Regions from separate parts of the Homo sapiens genome. Here region 2 is linked to region 1. Evidence: promoter capture Hi-C in 16 types of primary human blood cells and fetal thymus (Javierre and others, 2016). All regions are on one chromosome and are shown on one strand. Each heading gives the region's core, a stretch centred on a gene start or on the middle of the fragment in contact. The rest is flanking DNA. Distances are from core to core; before and after follow the strand shown.

Region 1 (7,728 bases), core at 2,793-5,292:
TGAGTAAAACAGAAGCTTGAAAGCAATTCCTAACCTTCCCCTAAATTACAATGGGCAGATTGATTTCCAACTCACCCTACCATGGCTCTCTGGACTCAAAGACTCTTTTAGACAATAGTGGAACTAATTAAGCCACACATGGAGCAGCATCCAGGCTGTGTCTGCTCAGGCTGCCCCAACTAGGGTCTAGGATCTGTTCATTCATACTGGTGGGAAGTCAACAATAGCCCTACTCACTGGCTAAGCACCCTGTCCATGTGGTCTCTCTTTCACAATGCTAAGACATTCTGGTCCCCTGCTGCTAGCCTCTAGGTAGTGCAAAATGTGCTGAGGCCACTGAGGAAGGGGCACTTTTAGGTTAGATTGATTGTTTTTCTTTTTTTCTGAAGGTAATAGGGAAGAGAGAGGTTAGTTATAATAGTATACCAAGATTCCTTCCGACTCCCACACATACATACCTCTTTTTCTCGTACACAAAATGGCAGACCACTGGTTGTCATCCCAGATTTTCCATACACAAGGAAGAAGCATTCAATAATTTGGAACACATACTCTATTTTTTATTGTAATTATCCAGCCTGGGAAAGGAAATGGTTTTGAAAGAGGAGAATAGGAGAAACAGACAAGGGTACCCCCAGGTTTCTTAGATCTATATGCTGTGGAAACCTGATTTTCAATATAAGCTTTGTTAAGAATATTCTTTTTTACTTCAATGCTTCATTTAATTTATTGATGGGAGGGTTTTCCTGAATTTCAAATATTTACAGAATAAGAAAATTTACCACCCTAACATCTTTCCTAGAGTCAATTACATGAGGGATTCATGAAAAAAATTAATGGAGCTACTATTGGGGAAATAGAATTAAAAGCAAAATCTCCTGCTATTTCAGAAAACCTCACCACAAAAATAGAAGAGAAAGAAAACACTTTTATTTCTGAATATTCAACCAGAATGTAATGCACACCACAGGCAATCCCCTAAAGAGATTACTAAAACAGAAAGAAATCTTCCCCTTTTATATGCCAAGAAGATATCCTCCACTGCACACATTTTCTCAAGACAAACAATGACTAGTATTCACATAAGAGGACTTGACAGCACCATTTGTCACATAGCGTTTATCTGAAATTATTTTTGTAATATATTTGCTAATTGCCCTTAAAAACTAATTTCTCATTTCTTTTTGGTTGGAGGTAGATTTGCAATTTGGAGTCAGGTGTCAACTGAAGTTAGACTCCAGAAAATTGTATTCTGGAATACTTGAGCATGGAGACTGCACATGGACATTAGGGTGTGTGCTCTGAGATAAACGAAAGCTACAGTGAGAGAACATAACCAATCCCAAAGATAATTTCAAAGAACAATGACAGCAAAGGTTAGGTGGGAGTAGTATTTGACAATGCTTATTTGATATTGTCTCTCAGAGCTGCAAACTAGATTATACAAGTCATTAGCGTCAGATAGCTTTAAAGTTGTGACCTTCCTTTACATGAATTTTCTAGCCAGTTTCCTATCCTTTGCAAGAGGTAACAAAACATGAAACCCTAGAATGTGTGAGTTCAGGCATTAGGTATATAATAAGGAGGCTCTCTGTCCAGGGCTGCTTTCTGTCTTGCAGGGGCTAGTGAGTCTTGTGTGTTTTTATTTTATTCTCACATTTGTGTTTTTTTAGAAAAGTGAATGATCAATAATGGCTTATCTTTTATAATAAAATCTTCCATTTTTAATAAGGTGCTCCTGGAAATCCCTCACAGAGCCAAAAGGAAGTTTGGAGAGCAGCCATAAGGATAAGAATGATGTGAGATGAATCTGGGGTTGCACAGCTAGTACCCTAGTTTCTCTGAAATTGTTTCTTCTAAGCCCACTCCCCATCCTTCTCCTGCCTGTTTTAGATATGACCTTTACATTACTCAAGGACAAGCAATAAAATATTTTGCACTTTGTTTTATTTCTTTCAAGGAACTTCACAAGAGCAGTCCTGTATCTGCTTTTCTTACCATTGAACCTACAGTGCCCAGCACATAGTAGGCACTCGACACATACTTGTTAAAGGAATGAACAAACAGATGAGTGACCAAACTGGAAACAACCATCAAATACAAGGATAATACAAAAATCCATGATTCCTGTCCCGAGATTTCTTTCTTTTTTAACCTTTTGTCTGTTGAGATTCATTTATGTGCAGTGAAGTGCACCCTTATTAGTATACAGTTCTGTGAATTATGAGAAATGCATACAGTCATGTGGGCACTAACACAATCAAGATAAAGAACAACAACAAAAAATTTCCTCCTGTGCTTTGAAAGTCAACACCTCCCCCACCTTTTGCTCCTGGCAACACTAATATGTTTTCTGTTCCTGTGGTTTCACCTTATCTCTAATGTCACAGAAGGTAGGCTTTAAGTCTGGTCTCTTTCACTTAGTGTAATGCATTTGAGATTGATCCAAGTTATTGCATGTATTAATAGTCCACTCCTTTTCAATGATGGTCAGGATTCTGTTGTGTGGATGTAATATAACACAGAGCTTATTTAGCAATTCACTCAATGAAGATCAGTTGGGCTATTTCCAGGGTATTTCGGCTATTATGAGTAAAGCACATATAAAAATTTGTACACACAGTCTTAGAGGACATAAGTTTCACTTGGCTAAATGCCTAGGAGTGAAATTGCCAGGTTGTACAGTAACCCTATGTTCAATTTTATAAGAAATTGCCATACTTCTGAGATGGGAGAGTTCCCTTGACCCCTTCTCGGGACTTGCGACAGGGGTGTGGCCTACTTACTTGGCCACCACCATGCTCAAACTCTCTGTGGGAGCGGGAGCACGCAGGCAAGCGGGTGCCAGGGCTTCGATGAGCACTTTTGGGCTCCAGCCCAACAGCAGCATTTAGGGATGTGTTACAATTCATGCTCTTTTAGCAGTTGCCATCCGTGGACAGCTAAGTGTTAACCCACTCAATGGAGAGTCAGGGTGGCAGCCTTTTACACCCTGCCCTGTTGGTACCCAGGTTCTTGTTCAGCATCCAGGAAGAATCAGGTTGCATGAATGGTTTGAAAGTTGATGGATGTGGACGATTTTATTAAATGGTGGAAGTGGCTCTCAGTGGAAGGGGAGCTGCAAAGGGGATGGTGCAGGAAGAAAGTGACCTTTCCCTGAAGTCTGCTGTCTCTGGCCGGGCTCCTCCCTGAAGTCATGCCACCTGAAGTTAAGCCACATCTCTGACACTCAGTTGCTTCTTCTCCTCTTGATGTTCAGCCGCTTGTCTGTCTGCCAGCTGAGGTCTGGGGTTTATATGGGCACGGGATAGGGGGGCTGGACAGGCTAAAGAGTAACATTTGGGCAGGATAACAGGGATAACTGTTCTCATTTAGGGCTTCGGTTTCAAGGCTTGAGGGTGGGACCTTTGCCAGTGAACCACCCTCTTCTACCCAGTAAAGCCCTGCCTTCTGTCCTTATCACTTCTTTCCAAAAAGGCTGTCATTTTGCATTCTCATCAGCAATGCATGAGACTTCCAGTTGCTTTGCATACCTTGCCATACTTGATATTGTCAGGGTTTTATAGCCATTGTAATAAGTATGTAAAAGTGTTCCATTGTGGATTTGATTTACACTTCCCTAATAACTACAATGTTTAGCATCTTTTAATGTTCATCTGTATAGTTCCTTTGGTGAAATGTCTGTTCAAATATTTTGCCCATTTTGTTACTGGGTGTTTGTTTTCAGATTTGAGAGTTGTTGATACTATATTTTCTACAGGTCTGTGGCTTGACTGTTTTAACCTCCTTCTGACTTTTCTAAGAAGACAACGTGATTTATAAACGTAAATATCTGTAGTGGAAAAACTCCCATGGCCCATCTGTAATTTCAGACCTGGGATTCCCCAGAGGTTCGAAGCTCTCATTGACGGGTAGTTGCTGGTTATGGCCAACAGCCAGGTTGGTTCAGGCACTGACATGTTAGGACATTCTGCACATGCGTGCCTCTAACACTCCTCCCCCAGCCTCTTCCTTCCCTCTGCAGAGACACCCTTCTCCTTTCTGCTGTCTCTGCACGGGTGGCCAGAGCCACACAGCCCTTTCTTTAAGTCAGGAGTTGCCCTGTCAGAGCACAAGGCAAGAAGGAAGTGGTAAAGGGACGGAGGGGAAGCCCTGAGAGGACTGAGAGGATGGGAAATTCTCTGCTGAGAGAAAACAGGTAAGTCTAGACTCCCTGTGGGAGAGCAGAGGAGATGGGACAGGACAATACAGCAAGGAAGAGAAAAAGAAAGCTAGTATACAGTTAGCACACTAAGTTGGGGTAGAAAGTAGTTGGGTAAGGAAACTGCCAAGCCTTCAGTGCCTACTCTGTGCCAGATACCACATTAAATTTCCCATAGGTTTTGCCTTCTCCCAAGAATCATGGTGAGCAGCTGATGGAGAATAGCTGAAAGGTGGAAAGACTTTACCAAGGAAGGTCTATATAATAGGTTACCACCTAAGAAATGAAACAACTTTCTGAAAGCCCGGGAAGGAGATGCTCTCCTGAGCTCCTCATGCTCCACAAGGAGGTCAAAATCACCACCCTCTTTCAGCCACTATTTTAAGTTTGAAATAAACAGCAAGCTTCCTGCCACCTTGAGTCTTCCTTTGATGTGCACTCCCTGCAAGCAGGTAAGCAGAGGTCATCTAGATTAAATAGGCACAGAACTCAGATTTACTTTCTGGACCTCAGCCTCTTTATTTTAAGTAGAAATAATAATACAATATCTACCTTAGAGAGTTCTAGTGTGTATTGTGCTAGCATAGTGCCTGACATAAAGTAGGGTTCAAAATTAGAAGATATTTTCTGCTTTCTTTTTCTGACCATCATCTTCCTTAATATCAAAGCCGTGCCACCAAAATAGTGCCACCACAGACAAGGTAATCTCTAGGGTATAAAGTGGGGTGATCTAGAGAGAGTAAGCGAGCCAGAGGGGGTCTTCACAGGGTTATGTTTGGAATCCCTGGTCTCAGTTCATGCTACTGGAGAGTGGAACACAGGAAAAAATGGTAGCCCACTTTTGACCACTTGCCGAAAAGAGGATTGGTGGTCCTGTGGAATATCTCATGTCCCTTCCTAAGAATCATGTTGTCTGAGACTTCTCTACCCTGGGTTGTCACAGCCCCTTGTCAATCTTCTACTCTAGCATTGTTCTAACAATTATATAAATTACTATTTTTATTACTAGATATGAGATGCTCAAATGTAGTGATTGTTTCTTATTTATCTTTGAATTCCTGGTTCCTGGCATTGTTTCTGGCATATCACGTGCACTGAATAAGTGCAAAAAAACTTTAAAAAAATTTTTTTACTTTAAAATTTTGTTTTATGTAAGAAAAAAAACCTTTTTCCAAGGTGCACACATCTTATGCTATTTGGACTTCTTATGGTTTTTTATTTATTTTAAAGAAAATTCGATTTTAAATCTAGAAAGCTTTTTGGTTTCTGCCATTGCATTCATGCTTAAAATTCTTTGCTCTTCCTAAGATAAGACAAATCAACTCACATAAGTTTTGATTTTGTTATTTTACATTTGGCAACATATATTCAATATATGGTGTCAGATGTAAATTTTTTTCCAAATAGTTGATCAGTTTGCCCAACATCTTTATTTCTATGATGATTTAAAAGGTCTCCCTTGAACCAAGTGCAGTGGCATGCACCTGTAGTCCCAGCTACTCAGGAGGCTGAGGCAGGAGGATTGCTTGAGCCCAGGAGTTTGAGGGCAGCCTGAACAACATAGCAAGACCCAGTCTTAAAAATAAATTCATTAAAATAATTAAATAAAATGTTTCCGTTAACGTATTCAAAAGTCTTGTATATATTGGTATCTAATTTTCATTGTCACCCCAACACCCAGTTATCATCTAGTCAGCATACCCCCCCAACCGTGTCTCTCCAGATCAAATAAGCTAAGAAGTCAGGGAAATTTTGCACAGAATAGAATGGCACTCATCCCTTCATGAGAGGAGCTCAGTCTCAGAGGAAGAGACCTGCCAGCAGCAAACCCAGCTTTTCCCCCTTAGTGGCTGTGGATCCTCAGACCAGTTGCCTAGCATTTTGGGCCTCAGTTTCCTCATTAGTATAAAAAATATAATGATAATATCTATCTTATGGATTTATTCTGGGATTAAATGAAATATAACACACAAAATGATTGGCATATAGTAAGTAGTGTTTAAGTGTTAGTTTCTTTATCCTCATACTCCCAATTCCCAACAAGTGGGAAGATGGGTATACAGAAATCTAACCCAAACAATGAACCAATTTATTTTCTTTATTCAATCCTTTTCTTCTCCTTCTGTCCCTTGTTCTGGGCCTCCATGCTTTCTGTGAAAGATGGTGTGATTTACACAAGACAAAGCCAGTACCTTTCCCCATTACTTGTGCATAGCTCCTGGAACTGCACCAAAGAGATGGTAGCTGAGGACCTCAGGCCTCTCTCTGGACACGGATACTCTCAAGGGTCATGACGAGGATCCCTGGATATTTGGGATCAGATGATTTAGGATCACTTGTTCATGGAGGTTGGAGAACATCAGTGGGCTGTTGCTGTGGCAATGGAGAGCATGTCAGATCAAAGGTAGCTTGCGACATGTGCTTGAGGAAACAGTATTAACATGTGTGAGGGCAACCAGTCAATTTCTGAGTTACACACAAATAGCAGAAATGAGGAAAGTCGGAAAAATTATGAAAAGAAGTGACAGGCCTGTTTAGGAAATACTTAGCCTGTTTCTGATATGTTGAGTTTCAGGCGGCAGCAGAACACTCAAGAGATGCCTTGGAATGTGAGAATGCAAAGCCCCAAACAGAGAACATCCAGGTGAGAGCAAAATCAACCAAACACCCCCCAGACCTTGCCCAAGGAGAACGAAGTATGTCAAGCCCTGGACTTCACATCCCAGTGAGAGAGGGCCCTGTTTAGACCAGTAGCAGTTGCAATAGTAACAAATGTGAAGACAGGACAAAAGATAAAATGCTTGAAAACTTTGGACAGGAGATATGCTACTTTGCTAGAAGCCTAATGTAACTCCTAGCAACAGGAACTAAGACCCTGCTAGTCCCTGTTATGCCCTGTTATAAAATAAAAGGTCTTATTTCCTGTTGTCATTTTGTTTGTCTATCTCAGGTACCTTTGTGCTCAACCTCCACCCTAGCCATTTTATTTTAAGCTATAGGTGTCTATTTCTGAAGTGACCACATGCCCCATGTTACGACAATTTTTAGAAAGTTTGTGGAGACACCATTGTGATTGCCCTGATGTTGTTAAACAAAGACCACCTCATTAATTCTTTTTGAACAGACCTTTCAAATGTCCAGCCCTAAAGAATTCTCTCTAAGGAAAGGAATAATTAAAATATGGAACTAATGTTCCAGGATCCAAGAATCCTAAGGGCTGACAAGGTCAGTTTTTCTGTGGCCTGTAAAGTTATCTGTGCTTTTCACATGGTTTCAGGAGGAGATTTTGAAAGAGGAGCAATTAAAAAACAAGCACTGTTGTTATTTTCTAACACCAATGCCCGCGTTAGGGGCTGGAGACCCAGAGATTCCTTTCAACAGGGTGAATTTTTTCAGTTCAAGTTGAGAATTACATATTTTCAGGGGTATCATTGGGCATATTTTAAGGCATACAGTTCAAATGATGAAATAAATCAGAAGGGCCACGGCATTATAACAAGGGAGAGGTTGGGTAGACCAGAGAGCCA
Region 2 (7,728 bases), core at 3,724-6,223, 1.4 Mb before region 1:
CTTGGCCTCAGTACATAAAGAGTAAGCATTCCTATATGAGACATGGAGAACTCAGGCCATCATATCAAAGTTTTAAATTCTTCCATATAATTAGTAATGCATATAGCTAGAGGTTACCACTGGAGTGTCCACATGGGCATTTCATTGTTCTTAAGGACTGGGTAGGCTTTTTGAATCTGGATCCAAGAGACTGGTTTAACTGGTTCTAGGTATACAACTACTGGTTTATATTAATGAAGATGAGGGTTGTTCCTTGGGCATGGAAAAGTATAATATATGTCATTAAAAGATAAATGCCTTAGTTAATAAATGAGATAAAAGAAATACTTCCAGGGAGATATTTCAAATTAAAAAATCTATGGCAAACTAAATTCTTACAGGAAAACCTCAGAGAAGACAGCCTGTTGCCCAGTGGTTAGATTTTATTTAAGGGTTTCTTATCACCATCTAGCTCAAATAGAAACATCTGATTGTTGCTGCCAACTGTCTCTACAAGAGTATTCTCATTTCCCAGTAAACCTGCATTTGTGCCTTCTGTCCCAGTCAAACATATCCCTGGCAACTTTCCCAACAAGTTAGTTTCCTTCTAGCCTGGCTGAGCCCTGTGGTTATAGAACACCCTGTTTGCACAGTATAGCCCTCCTCCTCTTAAAGAGAGTCTCCAGACACTTCCTTCCAGAGAAATGAAATGAATCATGATCTTGCCTAACTTGCACCTCCAATTATTATTTTCATCATTCTTATTTGAAGCAGTCATTCCATTCTCTCAGTGATTTTTTTGAAGGCAACTTCATATTTACATTACCCTATGCCTGGAAGGCATATGAGACTTTTCCTGGTGCTGAGTGCAGCTAACTAGTATGACACAAGCTTGGCAAAATAGTTCTCTGGGACAGTTTGGTATGGGAGATGCAGTGGCTGACAGGAAAGATTAGGAGCAATGGCTCCCACAACAGCTTCCTGTCTTTAAGCCTAAACTTAGAATAGACTTTCTCCTCCAAGGCACAGGAAAAATAATGTCAAGCAACAATGGCTTGAAGAAAGAGGAAAACAAAGATTAAAGCTCAAAAACTAGCCATTTTTTTCCCTAAACCAAATTCTTTGTTGCACTGAAGAGGGGAGGTGGGCAATGACCCTGCAGGCTAGAAAGACTTACCTTATCAAGACTTTGTTCAGGTTAAAGGGAAACCAGTCATGTCCAAGCTTCTGCTCTAAAGATCGTAGGTCTGGGGTCATACATCTCTATTTAACAGAGCCTCTTAGTGAGTGTAGGATAAGCAATGATGGCAAAAATTGCACAACATGGGAGAGTAACAAAAATTTAGTGGGTGGGGGTCAGCATTTGAGGAGGTATGAGGGGATGGCCAAGAAGATAGTGACAAACCAGCGCCTGAAAGAGAGCGTCGCTATCTTGAAATCCCCCTGGTGGTAAATTGTCGGAACAGTATGGCCTAGGTTTCTGATTTAATCTATCACCTATCTTGTGCTGTGATGTCATTCCTCTATGTTATTCCAAACCTTCAGTAAAATTCTGCTACATCCAACAGCCTTGTGTACCTGCAAGAAGGGGCTGCTGATATCTTATGCAGGATAAGAAGAACTAAGAAGAGAGTAGGAACCGAAGGTAATGGTTTGGACAGACAGATCAAGAAAATGTCTTCTCTGGAGAAAGCAACAGGAATACTGGCTGGTAGGACAGGAGGTTAATTTCCCACAATAAGTGGCTTTTGAGGGCTCCACTACAGCATTTGCATATTAAAGATTGGTCCCAGAAGGCTGTAAGATTTGAGGACATTTGGCTTATATTGAGAATACTGGCACTAAAATAATTGAAATTCTTGTTATCTCCTGTTCCCATGGTTCCCAACTTTGTATTTCTCAGACTAGTAATATTTTAACAAAAATTCTAGGGACTGCTTGGGTCATCAACCTTTTACTGTGTCATTCAAAAATATTTTCAAAACTGTTTCATAAAATAAAGGACATGTTAACACACACAGACAAAATAGGGCATAATAGAACAATTTTTAAAATGTGTTTTTATAAAAACCAAATTTGTTTTATGAAAGAAATTTGTTTTTATGTTTTTATCTGAAATGATCTCACATTTTCCAAACTATTGAATTGAAAACAGTATACATTTCATTTTATTTAGCCTTAGCTAATAACCCTTTATTCACTTATTTGTTCATTTTTGGAAAACACTAAATGTTTTTTATAAGCCTCTCTTTTCTTTAAAAAAAAAAACATTTTGAAAAAACAGGGTATCACTCTGTCCCCAGTGGGAGTACAGTGGCAAGAGCTCAGCTCACTGCAGCCTCAAATTCCTGGGCTCAAGTGATCCTCCTGCCTCCGCCTCCTAAGTAGCTGGGACTACAGGCGCATGTGCCATCACACCCAGCTAATTTTTTAATTTTTTGTAGAGAGAGGGTCTCATTATGTTTTCCAGGCTGGTCTTGAACTCCTGGTCTCAAGCAATCCTCCCACTTTGTCCTCCAGAGTGCTGGGATTACAGGTGTGAGCCATCATGCCTGGCTTATAAACCTCTTATGTGCCATTCACTGTGCTAGGTACTGGAGGGCAGAGATGAACATGACTTTGCCCCTGCCCTCAATATCTCAAGGTTTACTAGGGAAGTCAACCAGGTGATCTCAAGTGCAAAACTCACACAGTACAAGGGGAAAATGTAAAGGCAACAATTCATAAGTAGATGCTCTATCTCTATGCAGAACTGCAAGAAATACCAAAGCCTGATGTCAGGATTTACTTAGCACATGTAATTTGAGTTTTCTTACCAATGATTTAGGGGGAAGCTGAGACTTACTCCAGAGATCATGGAGTTTTCAGACTTTTTTCTGCTCCCAGCCAATCACAGGACTAGGAACACACCTCACGTGCAACATGTCAACCAGTCGATGAGTTCTCCCACGCTAGATAGAAAGAGGCTGGGTATATGGCGTTTGGGAAACAAAAACTGCAGCCTCTCCCTTGTCTACCATGAAATGGCTCTGCATACAGCCACTCTGCTCACTACAGAACATATAACCTGAAGGTTACTGGAGGACAGAGCAGGGTGAGGGCTGTGCTGCCATGGTAACAGTGCCATAGGATTTGGTGCCACACTGGAGATGGGGCACTCAGGGCACTTTCTGGCTACACACAGCTGGAAGATGTCTAGGAGCAGTGTTAGGCACATTGGTCCCCCCTGCTCAATACAAACCACCCTCACTTTGGGAAGTGATGAGGTTTTCTAGTTCCGATCTGGAGTGAGAATCAGACGGAGGCATATCATGGTATCCCAATCATCTAGTTCTGGAATTTCCCTAGAGGGTAGGGGATGCTGGTATAGTAAGGGATACATAAACACATTTATATGGGAAGAAGATCCAGAGGTTGGTACACTGGGGAGTCTCTGTCTCTGTCTCTGTCTCTCTTTCTCTCTTTCTCTCTCTGTCTCCCTCTCTCTCCCCGCCCAGTGCTCCAGAGGTACCACACTAGAGGAAAGAAATGAACTATATGCATCTTCTTACGTTATATAATCGGAGTATATATGTCAAAGGGATAGTCACTGGAACATTTTTCCCTCCTTATCTTCCCTCAACTTTTGTCAAAAATAGGTCTAGAACTTTCACACAATTATCCATCCTTATTTAAAATCAAAACCTGGATTGATCAGCTGATGGCTGCAGTTCTCACGTCTTTGCCCAGGTCTTCTGGCGTCTCTGAAGCACAACGTGTGACAATGGCACAAAAACGCAGGAAGTGACTGTTGAATGCACAGAGGTTCTGCAGCTTCCGTCCATTTTCACACAATTTCCATTTTAGATTCTGAGCAGTTCTCCCTCCCCATGCGCTATGAAATAGAAGGGTCTGGCTGAATCAGCCACTTGAAATTAGGTTTCTTCCCTGCAGGGGATTAGGAACCGAGGTGCGGTTCTTCTTCGCACTCCACACCACACCCCGCAACCCTAGAAATCAGGACTTTCCTGGAGAAAGACCCAGCAGGGACCCAGGACCCGCAGACGGTGCGGGGAACTGGTGCCTCTGCAAAGCCCAGCAATGCCCTTGACCAGGCCAGGAGAGGCGCGAGGCGAAGCAGAGTTGTCCCCGAGGCGTGTTGAGGCAGCTAGGGCAGGGCAGCGATTGCTTCGGAGGAGAAAGGGAAAGAAAGTCCCCTGGTCCCCGAAGTCTCCCAAGGTCAATTCCCAGGGGACTCCAAAGCAGCGACGGGGCTCTGAGATCTGGCAAGTTCTAGGAGTCGAGCGAGGGGAGCGAGTGTCTTACCTGGTCGGGCTGGCTGGTGTAGTTGAAAGAGTAGATGTTCTCGGTGCTGAGGTTCACCACCCCGCTGTAGACATGATCGAAATCGGCGCCCCTGGCAGCGTCGAAGGGGTCGCGGCGCGGTGCCGGGGGCTGCCTGGGGGATTTCGCCGGGTGCCCGGGCGACGCCGCCAGCAGGAGCCAGGGCAGCGCGCAGAGCAGCGCGAGCCGCAGGCAGCCGCGCATGGTGGGCACCGCGCCCGGGCTCGAAAGCGGAGCCACCCTGGGGAGGGGGCGAGCGCAGAGAGGGTCCTTCCAAAGCCCGGTGCAGGGCCAGGCGTCCGCTTCAGAGCCGAGCGGGTGATGCCTGGCGAACCCAGCCGGCCAGGGCTGGCAGCGTGCTGACGAAGGGCCGATCAAATACTGATGCTGCCGCCTGGGGTCTCCACTGGAGGTCACGGGTGGAGAGTAGGGCGGACTGGAGAAGTGGAGATGTGGGGCTGCTGATTTTCCTCCGGCTTCTAAGTCCCCCGTTTCTCATCGCCGAGAATCCCCCCACTTACCCAGCCAGAATTTAGACCGATCTCTTCTCCCTCAACCTCAATAACAGCAATAATAAAAAGGCATTGGAGTCATTAAAAAGAAATACCCGCTAGTCTCGAAAAGTCAACCTGACGCCACATCGAGGAGGAAATTCGGTCTGTTTCAAATACGTGTGCACCCTGGCTGCAGGAGAAGAAATAGAAAGCAAAAGAGCCCGTCCCCCAAGAGGGTGCGCGAGTTCGCTTTCCCAGGCTGCTACCTGCAGAGAACTCTTGCCTGTCTGAACGATAATTACTCTCTATTCTCCCCTCTCTAATAGAACCTCTCCTCAGACACCTGTTTTATTTCTTTATTACCTCCTACTCTCCATGGAGAGTCTCACGTCATCACGTTCTCTCCCTCACCATATGTGTATGTATGTAAATATGTACAGTTAAAAAAAAAAAGATATGGTAAAGAGAACAATTTCCAGCACTGCCTGAAGTCTGGTCCCGGAAGTTGTCAAAAAACGACTCAGACTAACTAGATTTATGCAGAAGGCATTTCTTTCCACCCCAGCCTCTTACCTACTTTACCATTGCAATGACTTCTTCCAGATTCTGAGAGAAACCCCAGGATTGTTTTTTTAAAGGCAGAAACCACAGCCTATCGTAAAAAGGAAATACTTTTCTGATAAAAATTAGGGGATTAGATTTAAAGAGTTAAAGAGGCAGGTAAGGAGCAGGGTGAGAATGGGGCCATCAGAAGACCTTGCAGAACATTGAACAATCACAATTTACGTGTGGAAGAGAACTCACTGTTTTATTTCAGCTTCATTACTGTATACTATAAAAGAATGTAATTGTGTTCAACCTGAAGGACCATTTAAAAAGAAGTCATTAAGAAGGAAAAGATCTTTTTCAAAAATTTAAGATTACAGATTAAAATCCTAGTCCTTGCCATCTTTAAAGAGATAGATTTGTTTTTGTTTTTACCTTGTCTAATTCCTTTAATTTCTTAAAACATCAAGAATGAATGCAATACATTTGTTGTAAAGTTTTCTGTGAAATCAGAAAACAATGCTGATGGAAGATTAAGTTAGTAGACTCCTTATTAGGACAATTTTCAGTTTTAAAGTTTTGAATGTTCTTGGCCAGGTGCAGTGGCTCATGCCTGTAATCCCAGCACTTTGGGAGGCTGAAGTGGGAGGTGGGCTAGCTTGAGGCCATGTGTTCATGACAAGTCTGGGCAACATGATGAAACCCCATCTCTACAAAAAATACAAAAATAGCTGGGCGTGGTGGTGCATGCCTGTCGTCCTAGCTACTTGGGAGTTGAGTTGGGAGGACTGCTTGAGTCCGGGAGGTCGAGGCTGCAATGAGCCGTGAACACCCCACTGCACCCCAGCTTGGATGACAGAGCAGGACCCTATCTCAAAAGGAAGAAAGGAAGGAAGGAAGAAGGAAGGAAGAAAGGAAGGAAGGAAGGAAGGAAGGAAAGAAAGAAATTTCTTGAAAATATATGGGTATATGGGCAAAAATACTAATTCAAAGGAGAGTCTGGGGGTAAAACTTCAAATAGAACTCACTGTTTTTGAGGAGCATAACGAAATAATTTCATCCAGAATTTGAATGACTTTAAACTGTTGTATTCAAAATATCTGTGCCTCTTTTCAAAGTTCAACAACATTTCATAAACTTGAAATCTACGAAGGTCCTGGAGGTTAGCTGGTGTGACCAGTTAAAGGAGTCTCTAGGATTATGGAGTTCTATTATGGCGTTCTTTTTAAACACTATAAGAGATGAGGAACTGGTTCTTTCACAAGTCAACACCTTCTTTTGGGGGCAAGTGTCTCATTATTAGAAAGACATTTCATATTCTTAGTTGAAATCTGCCTGTCTTCTACTCACTTGTACTAGTTCTGCCCTCTGGAGTCATAGGAATAAACCTAATACTTCTTCCACATGACAGACCTGTGGGTATTTAAATGGTGCTATGACCCTTCCTTCAAGATTTTATCTCAACTTTACGCAACTAAATTGGAAGCAAATGGAACAGATCCTTCATCATAGCATGAAACCCAAAATATTTATTTTAAAGCCATTTGTATGGATTATCTATACCTAACAATTTGAGTTATATATTACAAGTCACTCTGTAATATTATCTAATCCTTATTCTAGCCAAAAGTCATTCAGTGACCTCAAGTAATTAACCTCTCAGGATCACAAGGTTGTTGTAAGGATAAAAGGGAGAATGATGTATTTGAAAGTACATTAAAAAGTTTAAAGTGTTGAATGAACAAATACTGTTATGGTGTGACTGCTAGTTCAATAGCTAAAAAATAAAATGTGGTCCATTAGGTAGGTGGTTTTTTTCTTTATTTTTAAAAGGAATTTTATTTTAAATTTTTGTGGGTACTTAGTAGGTGTATATATGTATGGAGTATATGAGATATTTTGATACAGGCATGCAATGCATAATAATCACATCATGGAAAACGAGATATCCATCACCTCAAGCATTTATCCATAATGTTACAAACAACCCAATTATACTCTTTTAGTGATTTTTAAATTTACAATTAAATTATTATTGACTATAGCCTGTTGTGCAATCAAATACTACACCTTATTCATTCCATTTTTTGGTATCCATTATCCATCCCCACCTTCCTCCCCCAGCTCTCCCACTACCCTTCCCAGCCTCTGGTAACCATCCTTCTACTCTCTTTCTCCATGAGTTCAATTGTTTTGATTTTAAAGGCAGTTTTTTTTTTTTAATATCTACAATGTCAGGATTCTACTGTGAGAGACTAAATATGCAAGTGGGCAATGGCCAGACCATAAATAGCAATACAACTAACTCTGACCCACAGTTTCTGCAGCAATCAGCTCAGGAAACAAAAACACTTTAGCAGCAACCAGTCCAAGAAATCAAACTACA

Evidence for each region. The method cuts DNA at HindIII sites, captures the fragments that hold promoters and counts their contacts. A CHiCAGO score of 5 or more calls a contact.
Region 2: a contact is called between the fragment with the promoter of SIDT1 here and the fragment with the promoter of GCSAM in region 1, in 1 of 17 cell types (activated CD4 T cells). The highest score is 5.2, in activated CD4 T cells.

Annotation. Positions count from the first base shown.
Region 1 is chr3:112,129,562-112,137,289 of GRCh38, reverse strand. It overlaps GCSAM (germinal center associated signaling and motility), which reads left to right and starts at 4,042. Exons shown (of 6, transcript NM_152785.5): 1 at 4,042-4,198; 2 at 6,777-6,845. The coding sequence starts at 4,170. It overlaps TBILA (TGF-beta induced lncRNA), which reads right to left and starts at 3,867. Exons shown (of 1, transcript NR_157393.1): 1 at 1,931-3,867. It also overlaps a transcript of C3orf52 not described here. RefSeq lists enhancers at 1-202, 203-722, 3,717-3,896, 4,377-4,436. The HindIII fragment of the contact is 3,922 bases long and covers 686-4,607 here.
Region 2 is chr3:113,529,800-113,537,527 of GRCh38, reverse strand. SIDT1 (SID1 transmembrane family member 1) reads right to left here and starts at 4,973. Exons shown (of 25, transcript NM_017699.3): 1 at 4,285-4,973. The coding sequence starts at 4,506. RefSeq lists enhancers at 4,082-4,211, 4,682-5,011, 5,152-5,341, 5,362-5,581 and a silencer at 4,362-4,411. The HindIII fragment of the contact is 7,487 bases long and covers 1,206-7,728 here.